Regions from separate parts of the Homo sapiens genome. Here region 2 is linked to region 1. The links are contacts of gene promoters, found by promoter capture Hi-C in human tissues and cell types (Jung and others, 2019). All regions are on one chromosome and are shown on one strand. Each heading gives the region's core, a stretch centred on a gene start or on the middle of the fragment in contact. The rest is flanking DNA. Distances are from core to core; before and after follow the strand shown. Region 1 holds the start of TTC9B (tetratricopeptide repeat domain 9B). Region 2 overlaps ZNF780B (zinc finger protein 780B).

Evidence for each region. Contacts are between HindIII fragments. The study calls those that stand out against the background at their distance.
Region 2: a contact is called between a fragment that was not itself captured here and the fragment with the promoter of TTC9B in region 1, in 1 of the 25 tissues and cell types used here (bladder).

What each region holds. Positions count from the first base shown.
Region 1 is chr19:40,216,004-40,220,158 of GRCh38, reverse strand. TTC9B (tetratricopeptide repeat domain 9B) reads left to right here and starts at 1,775. Exons shown (of 3, transcript NM_152479.6): 1 at 1,775-2,204; 2 at 2,790-2,972; 3 at 3,887-4,101. The coding sequence starts at 1,778. The coding sequence ends at 3,996. RefSeq lists enhancers at 1-738, 2,317-2,907. The HindIII fragment of the contact is 9,592 bases long and covers 1-4,155 here.
Region 2 is chr19:40,051,733-40,056,078 of GRCh38, reverse strand. The region is part of intron 1 of ZNF780B (zinc finger protein 780B); the gene reads left to right. Among named protein-coding and RNA genes, the nearest start is that of ZNF780B, 2.3 kb to the left of the region's middle. The HindIII fragment of the contact is 4,300 bases long and covers 626-4,346 here.

The sequences.
Region 1 (4,155 bases), core at 526-3,025:
GAGGCCTGGGGCTGAGACCCAAGCTAGAGTCTCAGAGGAGGGGGAGGAGTAGTAATGCATAATGCCATTCACTCACACACTCATTCATTCAACAACTATATATGGATGCTGACTCAGAGCCAGGCACTCATGATCACATGACTCAGAGTCTAATGGACGATAAGAAACACCAGTTGTTAATTGCCCATTAATGTATGAAGCCCTGTGCTAAGTGCCTTACCTGCATAAGATAATTCAGTCTCTGCAACCGCTCTGAGGTTAACTTGCCTTCTATCCTCATGTCGCACAGACGAAGCCGAAGGAGGAGGATCGAGGAACTTGGCCCAGGTCCCACAGCTAAGGAGGCGGCAAAGGAGGACTGAAGGGCAGTTGACTCATTCATCCTCGATTTTTTTCTTGAAAGCCTCCTGCATGCTTCCTTTCCTGGGGACTTGTTTGCCCTCTCACTTGTTTTCCCCCATAGACAGCCGAGCTGGATGAGGGCAAGAAGGAGATCTCTCTTGTTTTTAGAGTTATTCCCTCCTCCAGGAAGACTTTATCACCACCTCAGCCCAGGGCAGGTACCTCCCACATCCCAGCCCCGACCCCTCTGCCTGTGCCTCTTCCACCTCGGCCCCGACCCCTCTGCCTGTGCTTCCCAGGCTAGCCTGCTCAGGGCTGTCACTGTCTGGTCACTGGTCTGTCTTCCCACTGAACTGGGGCCCAGTGAGAGTAGGGTCTGAAGCTCACGCAGTGTCTGCTATGTCCCAGCATCATCCAGCACAGAGCTGGGCACAGAAAGGATGTCAGTGAATATTTGTTTCATAAATTAACAGATGAATCCCAAAGGTGGTATTATTTTTAATTCCTTTCCTTTCCTTTTTTCTCTTTCCTCTTTCCCCTTTCCCCTTTCCTTTCCTTTCCTTTCCTTTCCTTTCCTTTCCTTTCCTTTCCTTTCCTTTCCTTTCCTTTCCTTTTTTGAGACGGCATCTCCCTCTGTCACCCAGGCTGGAGTGCAGTGGCACAATCTCGGCTCACTGCAACCTCTGCCTCCCAGGTTCAAGTGATTCTCCTGCCTCAGTCTCCCGAGTAGCTGGGACTACAGGTGCACGCCACCACACCAGGCTAATTTTTGTGTATATATACAAAAATTTTGTATATATTGTATATTAGTAGAGACGGAGTTTTGCCATATTGGCCAGGCTGGTCTCAAACTTCTGACCTCAAGCGATCCATCCACCTCGACCTCCCAAAGTGCTGGGATTACAGGCGTGAGCCACCTCGACTGGCCCTAAAGGTGATATTATTGTGCCATGTTACTGATGAGGATACAGAGTTCCAGGTAGTTTAAGCGAGCTGTCTAAGTCATACCACTAGTGAGAAAGTAAGCAGGGATTTGAATTTGGGAAGCTTGGGTCCAAATCCTGTGTTCTCATTCGATATGCCAAATGGCCAGTGGGCTGAGAGCCAGCTTTCCGTGAGGCTGATGTCTTCCTGCTCTTTCCCCCAGGCTCGTCCTTTCCTTCTAGAAATCTTCGGGAGCTTTGGGCACCGGGGAGGAGAGCAGGCAGGAGGTTGGGGAGGGTAAGGGGAATGGGAACAATTCGGGGGGCGGGCTGGAGAACTAGGACTTGGTTAATTTGAGAGTGAGCATGGGGGAAGTCTCGAGGGGTTTCCCTAGACCCATAGGGGGCAGCCGGAGTCGGCTGCCGGAGGTGAGGGGGCGGAGAAAGGGTGGGGACCAGCCCCGCGGGGGGCGATGCGGTAGCTGCAGCGGCGGCGGCAGGAGTTTCCCACAATGCAGCGCGGCGCGCTGTCCCCGGTGCTGATGCTCAGCGCTGCCCCGGAGCCTCCGCCGCGCCCGCCTCCCGCCCTCTCCCCACCGGGCTCGGGCCCAGGCTCGGGCTCCCGCCATGGCTCGGCTCGTCCCGGTCCTACCCCAGAGCCGTCGGGGAGCCTGGGCGCGGCGCTCGACAGCAGCCTGCGTGCCGCCGTGGCGTTCAAGGCAGAGGGCCAGCGCTGCTATCGAGAGAAGAAGTTCCGGGAGGCCATCGGCAAGTACCACCGAGCGCTGCTGCAGCTGAAGGCGGCGCAGGGGGCCCGCCCTAGCGGCCTGCCCGCCCCCGCCCCCGGGCCCACCAGCAGCCCCGGGCCGGCGCGCCTCAGCGAGGAGCAGCGGCGCCTGGTGGAGAGCACGGAGGTGGAGTGTTACGACTCCCTCACGGGTACGCCGTCGGGGGGTGGGGGGATGGGGCACGAGGGGAGGGGGCAATCGGGAGAGCTTGGCGACTTGGGGGCCAGGGGCCCTGGGGCTGAAGGGTCCAGGGCTGTGGGCTTCTGGGGGAGCCTTCAGAGCTTGATCAAGGAAAGGGATTAGGGGTAGGGGATGACAGGGGTCTGTGGCTGGAGGGAGCTGGGATGCAGGAAATGGTCTTTGGGTCGGGTATTCAGGGCCTCGCTTCCCCTGAGTCATTCTTTCCACCCCCTGGCCGCACGTGGACCCAAGGTGAGGAAGTCTGCCCTGAGCCAGGCTCTCGAGGTCCCGGCCCTCGCCCCCGCGCGGGGCCTTAGTGCTCTTGCCCACCGACAGCTCTGGGTGGATCGCCCAGTGGCGCCTGTCCGTGTTTTGGCGCCCCCTAGCAGCGGCGCAGTTGCGCCTGTTTCGATAGGCGAGCGGATTGGCGCCCCTGGTTGCCGGAGCAATCCCTTAGGCCTGGTTCCCTGCCGCCTGGAGCCTCGGCTCCTCGCAGTCAGGTGGGTTCTGGGGGTGCCAGCAGGCTCTGAGAGTGCCGGCCGCGGGGCCCTCGCAGCTTGCCTGCTGCAGTCGGAGCTGGTAAACTACGAGCGCGTGCGCGAGTACTGTCTCAAGGTACTGGAGAAGCAGCAGGGCAACTTCAAGGCCACCTACCGTGCCGGCATTGCCTTCTACCACCTGGGCGACTACGCACGCGCGCTGCGCTACCTGCAGGAGGCCCGCAGCCGGGAACCCACAGGTGAGTGGCGGGGCGGGGCAGAGGTGAGGGCTGGGCCCAGGGCGGGGAAAGGGGCTGCAGCGGAGGGAACAGGCAGGAAGATCAGGGCAGAATAGCAGAGCCCTCCTCCCGCGGAGCTGCTTCTAGGTAGGGCTGCGCCACCCACCTACTCCCTACACGCCCACTCATCCATTCATCCACCCCGCCCTTCACCCGCCATTCAAACATCCGTCCACCTATCGCTCCTCTGACATCTCCCCGGCCATTTCTCATCTACCGTCATTGCCACATCTGATATCTCCTATTCACCTGCTCAGTCACTTCCCTATCCACCCACTGTCATCTCCATTACCCCGTCCCACCCCTGCCTACCGCACACACTCATTCCTCCACTCACCCATTCACGCACACCTATTCATTCACTTCCTGCACCATCCACTCATCCACTCGGGTGGACGATGCCAGGAAATTGGGGTGTGTGTGTGTGTGCGTGCATGTGTGCACTTACACACATGAGTGCAGGAGGGCAGACACAACACTCAGTTTTGTATTAAGAGCCAATGAAGAAGGAAGAGGGATTACAACAGGTGCAGGGTTGTGGGAGCCGAGACGAGATTAGTTTTCCTGTTAAGTGGCTCGGAGAGAACAGACTTCTTGCAGATGTCGCTGGAGGATGAGAAGTGTGACGGGAGCCTCTGCGAAGAGGCATTCCTGGCAGAGGGTGCCGCAAATACAGGCGCACAGAGGTGTGCGATGGCTCCGCTGTGACTGGGGACTGCCGACTGTGACTGGGGCTTTGGGGAAGGGCTCTGGCTCTACTGGCTGTGTGAGCGAGCTGCTGGATACTTCGGAGAATGGGGTGTGAGCCAGGGAGGTGTGGAAGTCACCTGCTGCCCCGGGACACCCAGATGATGCCCTGCCCACCTCCCCTGCAGACACCAATGTGCTCCGCTACATCCAGCTGACTCAGCTGAAGATGAATCGTTGCAGCCTCCAGCGGGAAGACAGTGGGGCTGGGTCCCAGACTCGGGATGTAATTGGCTGAGGCCAATCCAGGGGGACCTCTCTATCCCTCGCCCTCCCACCTCACCATGTAACTTCCCCCGACTCATGTGTTTGTTGGTAAAACACTTGTCACTGGTGATCATAACTTGTGTGGTGTTCTTGGGGGGACCAGGGAGGGCCTCATCCCTTGGACCTTAGA
Region 2 (4,346 bases), core at 1,526-4,025, 170 kb after region 1:
GAGGAGGAACCCGGGGCGCAGACGGAATCTGCCAGATCCTTAGGCGTGCGTGTGCGCGGGCATCAAAGGATGGGGATTGCGCGATCTTGAGTGACGGAGGGGACTGTGTGAGTGTGTGCGTGAGGCCCTGTGCACAGGACCGGGACGGCGTGTGGACGCAGTGCGTTTTGCTGGGGCTGTGTGAGTGTCACTGTGCCGGTGGTACTAGGCTCCTGCTGCTTCCTCCGTCTTTCCCCTTCAAAGCTGCAGAGGCTGCAGCAGAGGAATGAAAATGTCCCCAGTAGGGAGGTTAGATATTGAACCGAGAATGAAGCTTTGCACAAGAAGGCGCAGATCTGGACTCGGGGTGGGAATATGAGAGCTGGAAGTGCCTCTTGAGGGTCCCCCAGGAGGGCAGCTACATGTTGAGAACCCAGCGTCCCTCAGAGATCTGTCCCCAGGAACCAGCTTCGAACTCAGACCGATTCCTCCTCCTTTTATTTCCTTCTCATTTCGTACGAAGTGAGGGAAGTTGTGGCCATGGAGGGTGCTTTCAAACTTAGTCTGCGCTCCAAGAAAAGCCTGGAGTCTCACGCTTGCCGTATCCTTCTCCAGTCGTATTATTATCCAAAAGAAGGACCGAGAGGAGGATGAGAGCGTTATTGTTGCACACTTAAGTCAAGGGTGAGTTTGTGCTTTGTATTTGTTCAAGAAATGCGTTTTTGATTTTAGAATATAGAGGTTCCTGTAAATTTTTAGTGAATTTCAGGAGAATATGCAAATTGATTCTTGCCCCCTCCCATTGTGCCGCCTCCCAGCGAGCCGTTCCCCACCCCGCCCGCTCCCCACCTTGCCATTTAATATTCACAGAGCCATTTGGCAAATCGTTCACACCTTCCTGTACGCTCTCTTCTTCTAAGCTGGTATAAAAATAGTCCTCCAGAGGTTTATATTAAAGCTTTATTTTAGACTCTGCTTTGAAAAGAAGATTAGTTTGTGGAATCACACGCCAGGTTTCTGACTCTTTACAGGCCTCCTTTTCCAAGTAGGGAAGAATGGAGATGGTTGGGTGATTTCCATTCGTCTGTGAGGCTTTCAGGAATCGGAAAGTGATTGCACAGAAATTGGTATCAACCAGAGTCAGGATTTTTCGGGAGAGTCCATGAGATGATAATTGTAATACTTGCCAGATCTCTGTGAGATTCGGCAGTTCCGGTTGCATTTTGGGCTATTTGTGTGAACTGTGAGAGGCAGTACGCTGTTGCGGTTAAGAATAGGGGAGTGGATCCAGAGTATCTGGGTTGGAATGTTTGTTCTGTCCGTTTCTGGTCTTCTCAGGCTTGTAATGAACATTAGAATGAATTAATACTCTAAAACCTCTTAGAGCAGTGCTAGGCATATAATAATAAATGTTTAATGTTTTAGCTTTTGTTTTCGTGTGGTCATTTTAGGTCATTTCCCTTGACTTTCTATAGGACAGGAGCATTGGGAATATGTGATTCATTGTGATTGCTGCTTGCATAGTAAGAAAATGAGTGAGTTGCTCAAATGATCTAGGACAGAAGTTCTTTTTAAATTGACAGATAAAATTGTATGTATTTATCGTGTGCAACATGATGTTTTATAGTATATGTACATTGTGGAATGACTAAATCTAGCTAATTAGCAATGCATTACCTCACATAGTTATCATTTTTGTGGTGAGAACACTTAATATCCACTCTCTTAGCACTACAGAATAGTTATTAATAGTAGTTATTAATAGTAGATACGTTGTTGTGTAATAGATTTCTTGAGCTTATTTCTCTTATCTTCCTGAAATTTTATATCCTTTGACCAACATTTCCCCAGCCAACACCATCTTCCCTCCCTCACCCACATTACCCCCGACCTGTAAACACCATTCTCTTCTCTAATTCTATGATATCAAGTGTTTTCTTTTTTTGAGAGAGAGTGTCTTACTCTGTTGCCCAGGCTGGAGTGCAGTGGCGTGATCTCGGTTCACTGCAACCTCTGCCTCCCGGGTTCAAGTAATTCTCCTGCCCCAGCCTTCCGAGTAGCTGGGACTACAGGTGCATGCCACCACACCCAGCTTATTTTTGTATTTTTAGTAGAGACAGGGTTTTGCCATGTTGGCCAGGGTGGTCTCGAACTCTGGACCTTAGGTGATCCGCCTGCCTCGGCCTTCGCCTCCGCTTTCGAAAGTGCTGGGATTACAAGTGTGAGCCACCGCACCTGGCCTATATGAACATTTTTCAGATTCCACTGATGAGTGAGATCATCTGCCTTTCTGTGCTTGGCTTACTTAATATGAATTTCTCCAGGTTCATCCATGTTGTTGCGAATGACAGCATTTCCCTTTTTTTATGGCTAGTTTTCCATTGTGTATATATACCTGCATATATACCACATTTTCTTTATCCATTCATTGATAGACAGTTAGATTGATTCCATATCTTGGCTATTGTGAATAGTGCTGCAATAAACATGGGTGTGCAGGTGTCTCTTTGGTATACAGATTTCATTTCCTTTGGATAAATATCCAGTAGTAGATTGCTGGATCATATGGTGGTTCTATTTCTAATTTTTTGAGGAACCTCCATGCTGTTTTCCATAATGTCTGTGTCACTTTACATTCTCACCAACAGTGTGCAATGGTTCACATTTCTCTACATTCTCACCAACATTTGTTAACTTATGTCTTTTCAATAGCCACCCCAACACATATGAGGTGATATCTTATTGTAGGTTTAATTTTCATTTCCCTGATGATTAGTAATGTTGAGTATTTTTTCATATACTGTAGCCATTTATATGTCGTCTTTTGAGATGTGTTTATCAGGTCCTTTGCCCATTTTTTAATTGGGTTGTTTTCTTGCTGTTGAGTTCCTCACACGTTTTGGATATTAACCCCTTATTAGATACATGACTGCAAATATTTTCTCTCATTCTGTAGGTAGTCTCTTCACTTTGCTGTGCAGAAGCTTTTTTAGCTTGATGTAATTTCATTTGTCTATGTTTGCTTTTATTGCCTGTGCTTTTGAAGTCATTTCTAGAAAAAAAAATTATTGCCCAGATCAATGTCATGAAGCTTTCCCCGTACGTTTTTTTCTATTTGTTTCATAGTTTGGGATCTTACATTTAAATCTTTAATCCATTTAGAGTTGATTTTTGTATAATGGTTTGAGAAAAGGGTCTAATTTCATTCTTCTGTGTATGACTCCCCAGTTTTCACAACAGTATGTATTGAAGAGACTGTCTTTTCCTTATTGTATGTTCTTGGCACCTGTCTCAAAAATCAGTTGGTTGTAAACATATGGATTTATTCTGGGGCTCTCTATTCTGTTCCGTTTGTCTAGGTGTCTGTTTTTATGTCAGTATCATGCTGTTTTGGTTACTATAGCTTTGTAGTATATATTGAAGTCAGGTAGTTTGATGCCTCCAACTTTGTTCTTTTTGCTCCAGACTGCTTTGGCTATTTGGGTCTTTTGTGGTTCTATGCACATTTTAGGATTTTTTTTTTTCTATTTTTGTCAAGAATGTAGGACTGAAATTCTTAATCTGAGTTCTTGTAACTCCACGTATGGTCTTGGGGACCACAAAGCTCTTGAAATAATGTATTGAAGTACTATGGAAATTTATCAATGTGGGTTTTAGAGGGAGAAATAGTATATCATTTCATAAGACTATCAAAACTGTATGTGACCCATGAGGTTTGGATCCATTGATCTAGATAGAACATTGATTCTCAGCGGGGGTGATGTTTAAAAACTTTTGGTTGTCACACCATGGGGGAGGTGCTACTTAGATCTAGTGGATAGAGGTCAGGGATACTGCTGAACATTGTACCGTGCACAGGATAACCCTCCCTATAGCCCCAACAAAGGATTATACAGCACAATATGTCATTAGTGCCTAGGGTGAAAAACCTTAGTCTAGAATCAAAAGATTGTGATACCTGGAATGACACTGTAAATGATCTTATATAAATCAAGTGTCCTGTAATATGGAAATCACTAAGCAAATTATACTAGACTCAAGTGATAAAGTATTATGCAGCTAATAAAATGATGTCTATAAAGAATTATGAAAAGAAAAATATTTGATATACCATTAAGCAGTATTCATGCTATGAACAATGATACTCAAGAAAATGTTACATGTATATGAATCCCATATACTAAGATAGGGTTTTTGTAAGGCATTCTGTAGGAATTGTATCCAAAATGATATTTTAATGAGTTATTTGGTGAAGAAGGGAACCAAGCATGGTGATGTACATTCCACAGATTTTCTCATGTAGTTTCCAGATGCCACTTATCTGCATTGTGTTCATTCAGAGAAGAGTCTTGATAATGAAAATGTCT